3 separate regions of the Homo sapiens genome follow, and regions 2 and 3 are each linked to region 1. The links are contacts of gene promoters, found by promoter capture Hi-C in blood cells and fetal thymus (Javierre and others, 2016). All regions are on one chromosome and are shown on one strand. The core of a region is centred on a gene start or on the middle of the fragment in contact, and the rest is flanking DNA. Distances in the headings are between cores, read along the strand shown.

Evidence for each region. The method cuts DNA at HindIII sites, captures the fragments that hold promoters and counts their contacts. A CHiCAGO score of 5 or more calls a contact.
Region 2: a contact is called between a fragment that was not itself captured here and the fragment with the promoter of GPC5 in region 1, in 1 of 17 cell types (naive CD8 T cells). The highest score is 5.4, in naive CD8 T cells.
Region 3: a contact is called between a fragment that was not itself captured here and the fragment with the promoter of GPC5 in region 1, in 1 of 17 cell types (non-activated CD4 T cells). The highest score is 5.4, in non-activated CD4 T cells.

Annotation. Positions count from the first base shown.
Region 1 is chr13:91,396,448-91,401,449 of GRCh38, forward strand. GPC5 (glypican 5) reads left to right here and starts at 2,174. Exons shown (of 8, transcript NM_004466.6): 1 at 2,174-2,762. The coding sequence starts at 2,600. It overlaps LOC124903189 (a long non-coding RNA gene), which reads left to right and starts at 430. Exons shown (of 2, transcript XR_007063831.1): 1 at 430-714; 2 at 899-1,141. RefSeq lists silencers at 1,988-2,282, 1,989-2,258. The HindIII fragment of the contact is 9,875 bases long and covers 1-5,002 here.
Region 2 is chr13:94,355,705-94,360,706 of GRCh38, forward strand. The region is part of intron 6 of GPC6 (glypican 6); the gene reads left to right. Among named protein-coding and RNA genes, the nearest start is that of DCT, 120 kb to the right of the region's middle. The HindIII fragment of the contact is 8,212 bases long and covers 1-5,002 here.
Region 3 is chr13:94,328,768-94,333,769 of GRCh38, forward strand. All of the region lies in intron 6 of GPC6 (glypican 6), which reads left to right. Among named protein-coding and RNA genes, the nearest start is that of GPC6-AS1, 140 kb to the left of the region's middle. The HindIII fragment of the contact is 750 bases long and covers 1,703-2,452 here.

The sequences.
Region 1 (5,002 bases), core at 924-3,423:
CATGCTGGCTCATCCACTTTGCTAGCAGTTATGGATAAGAGGTAGAAGGAAAATATATTTATTTTTTGTTAATGGGGATATTTTATACAGACTAAATATATTCTTGTTAGTTCCTATGGCATTTCTATAAATGACCTCCCACCTGTTTTGTTAACTTATAAAATCACTGAGAAAACTTGCTTGTGTGTCTCTTTAAACTCCTGTTAAGCCTAGAATAGCGGTTAAAAAAATTGTATGTTTTCAACCAATATGTATTAGTCAATTAGCTTTTACTGAACCATCAATACTCAGTTGTGTTTATGATTTTTATCCTTGCAAGACACACCGTTTTAGAGATTCCAGTTAATGGGATAGATGGTAATTTAAGGATCTTTTTGATGCTAAGAGTCTAAGATGATCAAATCTATCAAGGAGAGATCTTGGTAACAATAAAGATGTTTTAGAAAAACTTGGGAATTTATTAGCCTTATATAGAGATACACATAATTCCAGTAGAATACAGTTATATAGATAGAAATTATGCATATTTACTAGTAAAAAATCTGCTAAATGAATAAACAGCCCTTGGTGTTGCTGCCCAAAGGCCTTTGGTGAAACCTGATGGGTTTTTCTGTACCACAGAATAGTCAAGGAGAGCCTCTGGAGAAGAGCATGCGGTCTGGATTTGGAAGCCTCAGTTTGATTTCTGGCTTTGTCACTTACCTTAGGCATTCAGTAAGTCACTTCACCTCTGTGTTCCTGTTTCCTCATCTGTAAAACAATGATAATAGTAGTAACTACTTTATAAGGTTGTTATAAAGATTACATGAGTGAATTCATTTCCATAAAATACTTAGAATATTATCTGGCCCATAAGCACTATATACATTCTCATGGTTTTTCTTGTTTCTTTTCATAGATATAGGTGGCTTCCAGACAATCTTTCCATACTTGGTGGTTAGAGCAGAAGAGATTCATGAAGAGCACTGCCCTTTGAAACAAAATCTCATATTCAGAAAACTGATGCCAAACACCAAGTAGCATGATTTCACTCTGAAGCAGTGTTTCAGCCATTGCCCTGGAATGGTTTTAAAGCAAGTGATATACTGCTGAAAGTGCTGCCTTTGATATTAAATGTTCATTAAAAATCTTCACTAAGACATAAAGTTTTTCACTACTATCTCTTGGTAAGGGTTCAAATTTGAGATGAAATTCCTTAAAGTGGTTAAAGCATTCATTGTCCCCTCTGCCTGATGCTTTTAACTAGTTTATTTTACAGAAGGAGTACTCTCTTCAAGTGGCTGTAGATTGAGACACTCTTACAGGCTTAGTTGTTGAGTCAACCACATTTAAAAAATGCACCTGCCCTTTGGTTTATGGTGCGTAATGCATTCCTCTCATAAACTGTAAATTGACAAAATTCCTTTGCCATTTTAAAATTGCTTAAAGTATTTATTTTTCTATATTCCTTGTAAGGAACTCCCCTGAGCACTCTTAACTTAATTGCTCTCTGAAAAATATTTTAAAGAAATTCCAGAAGTGGTAAAGCTCAGAGGAGCCCCACAAATACAAAGTGCTGAAGTAAAATATGATGCTAAATGGTGATAAGAGACTTAAAACTAGATTTCATTGTGATAAGAATGTGATAAAGTTTGATTGTAATTCTTATACCTCCTTTCAGAAAATCATGTTATAGAAAAATGTTCCTAAGCAGTAAAACAAAGCCATTTTAAAAAATAACTTCTCATGTGCACTCTTTAACAACCTAAGTGTTATGAAGTCTCTCAATTGAGATCTTTAACCGTAAATAGTTTTTGCCTTTTGTATTATGTCCAGATCCTATTTAATGCAATTAGAATACAAATTCCTATGTACTGAGGACCTTGATTACATAGATGAGATATTTCTTAGTTCCAGTTGGTGTTTCTCATCTCTTGTCTTCTCTGACCCTATTTATACATTCTCTGTTTTTATCAGATGATTCTTCCCCAGAACGGACTGGGAGAGCGAGGTCCGGGTTTCCTTCTATTTATTTGCATCGATGTCGCTCCGAGTCTTCAGCACTGGGCCGCGTATGACAGCATCTTAGTGGGTGCGGAGCGGGACAGCGCGCCGGGGGCGTGGCAGGGGCGTGGCCTGTCCGCGGGGCGGGGAGTGCGGGGCGGGGCTTCCGCGGAGCGCAGCGAGCGGGCACATCCCAGGTTAGCTGCTGCGAGCCGAGCCGGGCGGCGGAGGCGGCGGCGGCGGCGGCAGTGGCGGCAGTGGCGGCAGTGGCGGCAGCGGCAGCAGTTGCAGCAGTGGTGGCCAGAGCGGATGCTTGCGGGCTCCCTGCGGCTCCACTAGTTTTCTTCGCCCCGCCCAGCCGCCCACTCTTCTCGGCTAGGGAAGAAGACCAGAGGGTGCTCAGCTGGAAAACTCTGGTGTCTCAGCTTAGGGCCTCCTCCGGGAAGAGCTAACTGCTCCCAGGTGAAGCCGGTGCCCGCGGGCGGTCCGTACACCCCGCAGCCGGCTCGCACCGCTCGAGAGCCTCGGCCGCTGTGTCTTCCACGTCTGCAGCTCAGCCAGGGCGCGCAGGGCGAGTGGGGTCCACTGGCGGGTAAAGGGGACCAGGACGGCGAGGATGGACGCACAGACCTGGCCCGTGGGCTTTCGCTGCCTCCTCCTTCTGGCCCTGGTTGGGTCCGCCCGCAGCGAGGGCGTGCAGACCTGCGAAGAAGTTCGGAAACTTTTCCAGTGGCGGCTGCTGGGAGCTGTCAGGGGGCTGCCGGATTCGCCGCGGGCAGGTAAGGGGCAATGAGGGGGTCTCTGGACTGGCGGCGTCCGAGCCCGGCCTTCGCTCCCCCAGGCTCCCTTGGTGGCACTCGTGGGAAGATGACCTTTCGGGCCCTGCAGCCGCGCAGGGTGAATCCCGGGGAGGCTTCCGGGGATGCTTGGTGCGGGTAGCCTGAGTGCAGCGCAGCGCAGCTCTGGGGACCCCTAACCAAGCCTGCGACGAATCCCCGTTCTGGGCATCTGCTTCCCGCCCGGCTCCCTTCGTCTTGGAGGATGAGTTGGAAGGAACCAGGAAAGCAGACATCAGGGCGTGGGGGACACGCAGTCTAACTCCGTTTCTCTTCCGAGTAGGAATTTCCCCAGTGCCCCACCGGGGATTTCGGTTTACTGCTTTCTCATAAGGTGGAGGGAATTGAATTGATCGCCCCAAGTTTGGTACTAAAAATCACAAACCTGCGATATACCCCTTTGCTGGAGAATGGGGCACAGACAAGGGCAGCCGGTCTCCTCTGTAATTAGGACTTGGACCCTGTGCACCCAGAGACGTGACCCTTAGCTGCCCTTCTGTGCCCTCGTATCAAGCCCTGCTTGGAGGAAACCCAACCACCCAGTGTGTCTCCCAGCACCAAGGTAGTTTTTAGCCTGAAAAGTGTTAGGGCAACAGGCGATCAAACCGAACGTACTGGGGAGTCACTTGACATGGATGAGATGTACCAGCGTTCCAAAGGGAAAGATACAGTTTGTGTGGCCAGCGTGGATCTTGCTTCCTGTGAGCGCCTTTTGCCTGTGCTTTCGAACCCTGCTCCCCGTTTCCACCGCACCAATTTCCTTCTGCTGGTGGGAGTTCCAGTGTAGGTTCTGTCTGGAAGAATAGGTCATAGCTGTCAAACGCAATAGCAGGTGTCTAGAGCTAAGTAAGATCTCACTAGAGCCATGCACCCCTTTAGCTGTGACTATGAAGCCAACACAGACGAATCTGTGAGGTTACTGGTTGAACAAAGAACTTGTGGAGGACGCTTAAGTCTAAAGTCCCGAGTTTCCAGGGTTGGGGGACTTGCTTGTAGCAATGAGGAAGTGTGAGCTGTAGCCGCTTTTCTTGATTGCTTTGCTCAATTTTAAGTCATCCCAGAAAGAAAATCTAGGCATTCGGGAACACTGACTCCATTTGAGTTTACATGACCAGTCTTAAACCCAGCTATTTCTTTGTATACCTGTTTGGTACTAGGTGCTTTTTCTGTATTACTTGAAACAAAGTTGACATTCTCAGTTTAGGGCGATTCTTCTATCCCCAAATAAAATATCGCCTTATAGATCTGTATTTTTCTTAGTGCATTCTTTTCATTAGGAAATAAATCTCACTTTATTGGCTGCTGATAAAACTAAAGTGAGTTTGTGCGTGTGGGTGGTGAGGGTGTTATGATGTGAGATCTTTACCTGAATTATTAGATTTTTAGTCCCCAAATATGGTAACTTTGCCTGCTATGTTCACCGAATGTTGATGGCCAGCCCCTTCTCCCCAGTAAGGCCCTGATTTCACTCCACTCTGGTATCTCAGTATTTCTGGTATCTGCTGAATGCAACACATTGATTGGGTGTTCATCTCTTTTAAAGATGAACTTTCCAGAGTATCAGTCACTGAGACAGTGTCTTACCAGGATGTCAGGGAAAACTAAAGCTCTGTCCTAAGGAGAGGGAAATGACTGTAATTATTTGCATTTGATACACATGACACACAAAAAAGTTCCATGACGACAAGGAATCTTTCTTTTCTAAGTCACTCTGGATTGTTTCCCCATTGCTAGTAGATTTTTTAAATCTGTGGCTGAAGGTGATGGAGGAATCACGGGAGCACTCACAGAAGAGGCTTAGAGACATCAGTGGTACTGGTGAAAAGAAATGCTAAGTTCCTTTAATATTTTCACTAAGAAAAAGTCACACAAAAGTGCTATGCTGATTTAGATCCACCCCCCAAAAAAGGCATTCATATAGGAATTTGATATAATTCTGAAGTTTTGTGTCTGTATTGTTGGTCATTCTTTTACAAATAATTCAGCAAAATATTAAACTTTTTTAAACACTGATTCCTCTCATCTCTCTAAAAAAAAAAACCCCTCAATCCCAAATTGAGTAAACCAAACATACCACATGCTTAATAAATAATTTTCTTTCTTTTTGTATTTATATATGATCTACAACATTTAACATGATTGAATATGGTAATTGACTATCATATTTTCTAAGATTATCCTCA
Region 2 (5,002 bases), core at 946-3,445, 3.0 Mb after region 1:
GCTTCCAGTCCCCCCCTCCACTTTAGTTTTCACTTTAGCACATGCCATGTATATTTTTATTGTATAATTCTTTTTTTAACTTAATTTTAAGTTCTGGGATACATGCGCAGGACATGCAGGTTTGTTACATAGGTAAACGTGTGCCATAGTGGTTTGCTGCACCTATGAACCCATCACCTAGGTATTAAACCCCGCATGCATTAGCTATTTATCCTGATGCTCTCCCTCCCCCTGCCCCCACAACAGGCCCCAGTGTGTATTGTTCCCCTCCATGTGTCCATGTATTTTTATTGTTCAGCTCCCACTTATAAGTGAGAAAATGCTGTTTGGTTTTCTGTTCCTGTGTTAGCTCCATCCATGTCCCTGCAAAGGACATGTCCCTGCAGCTCCATCCATGTCCCTGCAAAGGACATGATCTTGTTCCTTTGTCTGGCTGCATAGTATTCCATGCTGTACATGTACCATATTTTCTTTATCCAGTCTATCCTTGATGGGCATTTAGGTTGATTCCATGTCTTTGCTATTGTAAATAGTGCTGTAATGAACATACGCGTGCATGTGTCTTTATAACCGGATGATTTATATTCCTTTGGGTGTATACCCAGTAATGGGATTGCTGAGTCAAATGGCATTTCTGGTTCTAGGTCTTTGAGGAATCACCACACTCTCTTCCACAATGCTATATATTTTACTGGTTTATTTCATTTGTTGTTGGAATCTTGTAATGCAAATGTAGGCTCCATAAAGGAAGGGGTTTTTGCCCTCTTTTGTTCACTACTTCATCCCTGGTACCTAGGAGAGTACCTGAAAAAGAGTAGATGTTTGATGAATGAACAAACAAACTCAGCTCGCTTCTCTAATTTACTTTATCTGCATGATCTGCCTGAAAGGATGAAGCAGCTGTGGATAGGCTAAGAGAAGAGCCATCACTCCTGGTGAAGGAAGTTACTTCTGGCAAGTAACATAAGCAAAGGCTTGAGCTGGCAGGGAGCACGTGGAAAGGGAAATAGGGCTCTGTGAGAAGTAGAGCCTAATTAAAATGAAAAATGTAGCTGGGCATGGTGGCATGCATCTGTAATCCAAGCTACTTGGAAGGTTGAGGCGGGAGGGTTGTTTGAGCCCGGGAGTTCAAAGCTGCAGTGAGCTAGGATTGCACCACTGGACTCTGGCCTGAACAACAGAGTGAGACCCTGTCTCAAAAAAAGAAAAGGTAAAAATGAAATAATGCATTTAAAATGGAAAATGTGTCATGGAGTTGCCAGTTAAGAATCCATGATTGATAGATGTGAACAAGACACCACTCGTCTGTCCCCTGTCATCAATCTGGACCATTGCCCACCCCACCTGGCTTTCCCAGCGCCATACCTGTGTATCCTTCTGGACCCCACCTGGGCTGTTCTAGCACCCTTCAATGATTCTCCAGAAAAAATACTAAACTGCTCACAGTAGACTATAAAACCCTGTAGGATCTCCTGGCCCACTTCTCTGGCCCCAACTCCTGCCTCTCCAACATATGCACTTTGCCTTTCAGTTGCACCAAACTAACTACTTTCCAAACCCTTAGTGGGTTTGGTCCACATGAGCCTTTCAACATGGGCTCCATCTGATTGGGAGCCCCAACACCAGCTCACTCTTCAAGATCAGCTCAGAGAGACAGAGAGACCCCTGTGGGAGCTTCTCCCTAGAGCCCCTACTTGGCAGACCCAGGACCCCTACTCTGTACCTCTGGACCATCTGATGCTCCGCGGGTAATACTTATCCATCAGAAGCTGCATGCATCGCCTGTAAGATACAGCGTGAACACACAATTCTGCGGCACTCTTGGCCAACTGATGGTACCCAGGCCTTGAGAATGCCTCCCTCGCTCCTTGAACCCTCCCTAGAAATTGATTGGTTTTCTCATTAAGTGGTCACAGCCCTAAGGTACCACCACCATGTGTCTATTTTCACTGGTCCTGAGTTAACCTGTTATGCCCTATCCCCTTTACTGTGGTGTAAGTGCCCTTACCTTTTCCCATTTGATCTCAGTTTAATTAACTTTGGGTCACTGGTTTCTGCTCTTGAAAATACATACTCTACACTCAGCTTTCATTCTTCTCAACTCAGTTCTTGTCAATGTTGACATCACGTTGTACTACTGTCTGTTTTTATGTCTATACCTCCACAGAAGAGAAAGCTCCTTGAAAGTAGAACCGATGTCTTTTCATCTTTGTAGCCCCAATGCCTAATGCGGTATCTTGCACAGAGAAAACCCTTAATGAATGTTTGTTGACTGAATGCATGAACACATGCAGCGATACAGCCATTGCCATTGGTCTTTAAGAGAAAGGACCATGGCACTTTGGGAAGCCGAGGAGGGTGAATTACCTGACATCAGGAGTTCGAGACCAGCCTGACCAGTATGGTGAAACCCCATCTCTACTAAAAATACAAAAATTAGCCTGGTGTGGTGGCATGCACCTGTAGTTCCAGCTACTCAGGAGGCTGAGACAGGAGAATCACTTGAACCCGGAAGCAGAGGTTGCAGTGAGCTGAGATAGTGCCACCGCACTCCAGCCTAGGCGACAGAGCAAGACTCCGTCAAAAAAAAAAAAAAAGAAAAAGGAAAAAAAGAAAAAGGACCATGAATTAAGTTATGGCAGCAGTACTACATATTCAAAAAACTAAGTAAAGAAAATAAAGACAGATTTTTTTTAATTACTGCAATCAGATTCATTGGTCATGAGAACCTGACCTATAGGCTTAGAAGAAGTGAAAAGATGGATATAAAAAGCTAGACTAAATCTGAAAATTAAAAGACCTTTCAGAGAAAGAAAACAAAGTTGAAGTCACAGGGTTGAGCTTGCCCTGGAGAGATCACACTGTCTACTCTTTAACCCCATGGGTCTGAGTTTTCAGATTTCCCGTGTATCAGGATGAGTTGGGGATACAAGTTAAGAGTGCGAATCTCCAGACTGCAGGTCTAGTACCTGTGTCTGTACTGAGAGCACATTGTGTGAACACCTTGGCATGGTGACCCCAGGACCACCTATGCCTTAACCATTTTTGATCAGGGAAAAGCTCTTTTCCTTGTAAAGATGACTACAGAGTTTCCATGATTTTCTAGGATACTCAGCATGTTTTTCCTGAAATCCTCTTTTTCATCATGTTTTAGGAAAGCCTGTTCTAATGGCTTTGTTTTCAGAAAAAAACTGTTTTTAAAATGTCAAGCGAAAGAGATTTCTAAGTGTCTCTTCTTGTTGTGGAGTCACCTTTTTGGACCAAAAAAAGTAAAATCAAGTTCTGGACAAAAGTTCTAGCTCCTCTGAAGTTTGTCCTTTCCTCTCGACCATATAAATAATGGAGAAGGGGAACTTACTGGTATATCTCATTTAGGCACTTGGATAAATAACACCCCACTTTCAGTTATCTTTGGAAAAAACATTGAGAAACCCTCTTACCTTTTTGAGGACAAAAGAAGCAAATTGAAAATGCACTAGGCCTTTTTTAAATATTTGTGATTTGGCTTGAAAAAGAAGGTCGGTTTTCCACATAGGAAATAATTTGAAGAAATAAAATGAAAACTATTTTCAAAAGACTGTTTAACTTTCCTTTAATTATACTAAAAAGAATAATAAAGAGCATGAAGCATATTGGAATTTGTCATTTATGGATCACCATGGCATAGTATAAAAATTCAGAAGTAGCTTCTAATGAGAAAAATACAAAAAATAATATCAGTGAATTTTATATTTATTAATCTAGGGGAAAAATTGAGAGGTTAGGGTTCCATTCTGTTCAGAAAGACTCACAGTGTAACCTCACATGCCAGCATGATCATTATACTATGACTTTCCAGTGCATCAGGAATAAAACATAAGGCTCGTCAAAGAAGTAATAGAAAAGCAACCTAATATTGAGGCTAACTTGACACAAATCATTCTAATTATTTACATTCAGAGCTCCTTTTGCTGAGACCTTTTTTTTTTTGAAGAGATAAAGGCTATTTTCTAAATACCACTGCTTAGCTACCAAATCTATTAACAGAAAGCCCCTGGCGTTTGATCTTTCAGATTCCAGTGTGCTTCCAGTACTGTTTTTATACTTATCTGCAATAAAAAGGTGATTCCTCCAAGCGCTTTGGATTTGGTTGAATCAGATTTACTGTCTGGCTTCTCAACCTTATTCCCAAGTACAATGTAATAGGAAAATGCAAAGCCCTTTCAAGTCCCCATGGGTTCCTATGGCAGGGTGGTGAAAATTTTGTTTTCTTTACTACTTTTCATTTCATAAGAGAAATAGTCTCAAGGAGAGGATTTCTAATGCAATGTTGTTAGATACAGACCATTAAATATGTAGGGCTGGCTTTCCAGCCTACATATGCAGCCCTATGGGAAAACTCTCCCTTTGTCATGGAAACCCAGGGGAGGAGTTGGTCTGTGCTGTTTTATGAATAAAAAATCCAGAAGGGGAACTCTTTTTCCATTTTAAAGCCAGGAGGAGTTTTTAGGACTTTCATTTTTTCACACTTGCCTGTTAGAGAAATGGCATAAGTTTTATGGTATTGTGCATCTAGAATGTTCTTAGCACCACCTGAAAATTATTATTTCCGCTGATAGTTAAGACAGATGATAGATGACTGATCGATGATAGATGATTGATTGATTGATTGATTCAGGGACAGTATAATCCACTGTTATACATAACCAGAAGCATAATTGGGCAAATAGCATTTGATTCATCTGTCTTTGGACCTCCTAAAGGAAGATGGGCTGATTTAAAATGTTATCTTGAAAAATGTATAGTCTTGTATTTGTTTGGAGGGTTCTAGACATAGGCATTGTTAGAAATGGTTTAGAAAATTAGGAAAGGCTACTCAAACCATAGTGGCGTTAAAAAAAAGGCCAAGAATTAGGAAATTGTTTGTAGGGCTGCTAGAATCACAATGATGTTGGAGAAGGTCTAGAACATTAGCATGGACTGATAATTCAGGGAAGAGTACCAAGATTTCCAGAGTGCTATC
Region 3 (5,002 bases), core at 828-3,327, 2.9 Mb after region 1:
GGGGAAGTGGGCAGCCTGCTGTGGGAGGAGATGCTGGCTGGGGAGCCCCTGCATCACTATGTGACCTTCGACAGGTCACTGCCCATCACCAAGCCTTCGTTTGCTCATCGTTAAAACCAGGGGTGAACTGCAGAGGCCCTGCAGTCCCTTTGAGCGACAGGACTGTAAGCTTCTGTGTGAGTGTGAAATGTGTTTGCTGTGACCCCTCTGAACATTGACCAATGGGTCCCCATCAACTCTGGAGCTCCTGAGGAAGAACCCCGGGGGGGGCTGAAATGGAGTTGGTGAGATACTTCCCACTGACACTGGAGTTCTCAGCTTTATTTCCCTTTTGAAAGAGCTGGTTAGTATCTTTTAGAGTAAGATTTGTATTTCTTTCTTGCCCAAAATGGAGCCAGAGAGGGACAAAATAAAGAAACTAAAATGTCCTCAAGAATATCCAAAAAGAACAGAAGTGCAGGAAAATGATGCTTAAAATTTAAGCTCCTGAAAACATTTGGCAAAACGCTGGGTTCTCCCTGCATGTTCAACGTTAGGAATTTTCACATGAGTTCACAGTGTTCCCAGGGCCCACCGCACCCTGGGCCCCTCACATCTTCCACCTCGAAGGATGTCGTTCCCAGCAGCAGATCTGTGCCTCGCAGTACCGTCTGCAGCTGCCATTTGCTTAGTCTGGGAGATGTCCAATTCCTCCCTCAGAAGAGAATCACGCTTTCATTTTCCCTTTGAGGTAGCATGTCCCAAATTACACAGCCAAGGTCTTCATCCCAGGGGGGAGGTTTATTCTCCACAGGATCTGCAGACAGTGAGAAAATGCATCTGATCTTGAAAACTGTGGTTGAACAATTGTGTAAATGTAATTGAAATTCATGTTTTTCCAGATGAAAATGGACCTCCATTCACAACATGGGATTGAATGGGTTTAGGAGATTCAGAAAATCTTGGGTTGTCTGATAATTTCCCAATATTGCTTTACTTCTCCTCCTCCTCTTCCTCCTCCTCCTTCCTCCTACTCCTCCTCCTCCTCTTCTCTTACCTTGGTCCTATTTGGGACAAAAAAAAAATCCCTGGGTCAGAAATTTTACCCTTTCCCATAAACATGACTTTTTGAACCTCCCAAGAGGCAGAAACGAAGCCAAATGTGATTACTCAGCCTCTAAAGTTTCATCATGTAGTGATTCATCAAAGGAGCTGAAGGTACTGCGCATTGCTGAACTTGAATATGCCTTCTGAGAGGCTCCTACCATGTTGCTTTCATGAAGAAATAGTGATCCTTGAAAGGGAATTTCACACTGGAACAGAGCAACTGTGCTGCCTGCTTTCTCTGTGTTCCCTCGATCAGGACTGATAACTCCCTGCATAAGTTTAATCCCACCTTTCCTCTTCTTCTCTCTCTCACATTAGCAATTCTTATGGAAACGATGCAACCCTTGCCTATGTTATGCCTGCCTAGTAATAATTTTTAGGATCATTTTCAAAGATCCTGGGGCCAGCAAAATTTTTACCGTTTAAAGTCTGTTTGGCCACTGGCCAAGTGACCTTGGGCGAGTCAGTTAATTTCTCTGAGCCTCTAACTCAGGAACTCTCAGTCTTGACTGTACATGAAAATTACCTGGGAAACATTAAATACTGATGCCTGGGCCTCGTATTTAGAGATGTTGATCTGTTTGGCTTGGGACTGACCCAGCATCTGTATTTGGAAAGCTTCCTAAAGCATGTCCTTGGGGTGCAGCCAAGGTTGCTAGCCACTTCCCCAAGTCCTTGTTTATCAAAATGTGATTCCTAAACTGGCAGCATCAGTATCACCTGTTAAAAAAATGAAGAATCACAGGTCCTACCCCAGGCCTGCAGCATCAGAACCTGCATTTCAACAAGATCCCAGGTGATTCGTAGGTACATCATGCTAAGAGAAGCACAGCTCAAATCCTTGTCTGTTAAAGGTGGATGATAATAGTCAATATGCAATGAGCTCTGTGCTCCATGTTTTTCCCTGTGTAATCTCAAAAAGGTACAGAGGAGAAACTGCATATTCACCTATATATCTCTTGAGACCTTAGCCTATTTCAAAAAGCTCTGGATACGAGATCTAGTGGGTTTGTTGGGTTGATTGCTGTCCTTTTATGTGGTTTTCTTAAGAGGCTGATTGTTACATTGATATAACCATATAAGACTGTTCTACGAGTTTAGTATCTTCCTCTGATCTCAGAAATTGGGCCTCCCTCCAAATATTTAATAAAAAAATTTGCCTCCTTTTTCTATCACATTTTAGATTGATTTGGAGGGTGCTACATCAACTCTAACTGGCAGATTTAAGAAACTGTATGCAGTGATTTTTAGGATGGGGACTAGTACAATAGGTAAACCAGAGTTGGGGTCAGCTAGTCAGACAAGTTTCTTTGCAGCAATCAGCAAACTATGACCTACGGGCCGAGCCACCTATTTTAATAAATAAAGCTTTATTGGAACACAGCCCTGCTCATTCATTTAGATATTGTCTAATGCTGTACTGACAGTACAATAGCAGCACTTAGTCATCTCGATAGAGACCCTATGGTCTGCAAAGCCTAAAATAATACTACCTATCCTTTCAGAGAGGAAGTTTGCCCGTCCCTGATTTACAGCAACCCCTAAATGAGGCCAGGGTTGAGTGATTGCTGACCATCTGGGCCCATATTTTTAGTTGGTTCCATAGCCCAGTGTACACCCCTAATCCCAAGCAGATTTTAAGCAGCTGTGTGGTTACATGGAGTCAGGCAGAGGGCCCAGAACTGATCTATCTGCATTGTAGCCACAAATAAGAACAAAGAGAGGTTCATCCTTGTCCACGGACAGCAGCATTTGTCTGTCAAGTTGTTGGAAGTATTGCTTGAGTGTCCACCTAAAATGGACCCTTCATAAATTCATGCATTTCCAAATAGTATGAGAAAGGATCCTAGTATGAAAATTCTGAGTTAAACCTGGGAATACAAAGATTTTTAGGCAAGATGGAAAGCAAGGATCACTACTTAGGAAAAGTAAAAGGTGAATTAATTTGGGTACCAGTCTTTTTCAAGCAAGAGATTTCTTCCTCAGGGAAAGTTTTAAGCATTGGAATATAGATATTAAGCCAATTTTGGATTATATCAAAGAGTTCGTCAACTAAAAACATGTGCTCTTCTCTCTCTTTTTTTCTTCTCGTCAATAAGCGATGGAGAAATCTAAAGTCATGTAAGATTTTATTTCTGTTCTCCATCTGAGTCTCAGTCATTGCAAACTATGAGGCAGTAATGCTTTGTGCAACAGGAATTAAAGAAGGGAGAGGTGGATAAGAGCAGGCTGGAAGAATCTCCCCGAACAGGTTCTAGAAACTGGACATTCCTTTGACTATTACCCGATATTCAAAAATTTAATTTTTTCTTTTATAATTCTTTTGGGCCCCTTTTCTCATCCTTTTTTGGCTTTGGTTTCTTCCAATAAGTGCTTATGAGGCCAAGAAGTTGGTCACTGGGGGCTTTAACAAGGCCCATGGATGGCAGCTGGATTCAGCTGAACTGTAGTAATTAGCCATCACCTAATCTTATTCAAATGGTGCTCCTAGATCTGCAATGTGATAAATTGTGAAAGTTCCAAGTAGGGGGAATAAAAGAACAAAAGAAAGATACTAGCAGTCTTGGGTCTGACGGATTGCTCAAATTATATTCTTGCTGTTCCATTTTGCAAGTTTTTATCAAAATGGAAAATGCGAAGTCTTTGCCTAATGTCTCTGTACATAGTTTTTGTTGCCAGTTTATTCTCTCTGGTGTGGGGCTGGCTCAGCCGTTGGTCTCTGGCATGGAGATACCAAAATGCAGCTAATCTGCCTTCTGAGTAGAGCTCAAAACATGTGATTTAAAATCTTATGATAGTTTCATAGAAATAATAATGCCGTTGTGTCGAATTGTTGCAAGAAATAGATTATTTTCGAAAAGGTTTTTGTTTCCTGTAATGTTCTGGAATTTTTTATAAACAAAATCAGTTTGGTGGTTTTCACTGAATTGACCAGTAATGAGTTTTGCTATGAGCGAATTTGATGTCAGGAGATTGCAAGAGAAGTAACAGATGTGAGGATCTCTGTTTACAAGAAAGACACTTTTCTCTTTGGCCACTGCCTGTGAGTTATGAGAGAGGTTAACATTTTCTTTTCTCTGTATGTTTACATGAAGTTTCTGGAAATCATTGCGAGGATTCTGTACATGACAGGATTTTCCCAGGGGCGATAGATGAGGGATTTAGAGATGAAATTGGTCTGTGCATCAGGGATGGGAAAGGATTCCAGGGTCTTCATCTGCTTTATGAATTAATATCGGTATACATTACCCTCTTAATATAGTGCTGAGCCAGGAAGTCTTGTGAGCCACCTAAGTTAGCTGTGAAATACTCAGGGCGTCCCTTAATTTTTTACTATAAATTTCTTCCACTTCATTTCTAACTTTGAAGTTTTAGGTAAAGATAGTTTCTCAACTCATATTTTGCCCTTTTCCAGATTATGCATTAGATGCAGTCATGGCCATAAATCTCACTAATGGCCAGTGCTGTACGGCATCTTATGGTCAGCATCTGAGTGTGCAGGCTCTCTGTGCTAATCCTGGGATTCCAGTAAGTCATAAAAACAGCGGCTTAAGAAAGTTTGCATTTTTCCCCTCTTGTCAAACTAAGATAAACCCAATTTTAGAAGAGGTACAGTTCCTATCCCTTCCTGGTGAATCCTAAAAGGAAATCAATACATCAATGCATTGTCCTTTAGTTGCACTTTGTACATTTTCCTGAGAACTTATGGCCAAATTAGTAAATGAAATGTGTAAGACATTGGGCAGTTTTGCAATGCACTTCAAGTCATCTGTCTTAATCCCTGCAATAACCCTAAGAGTAGGGCATTCTCTGTCTTGCTAGTCAGGAAACTGAGGTCCATGGAAGCTAAGTATGTTTCCCTGGGATTGCACAACTAAGTAGCAGAGGTAGGATTCAAGTTCGGATCCTCTGACTC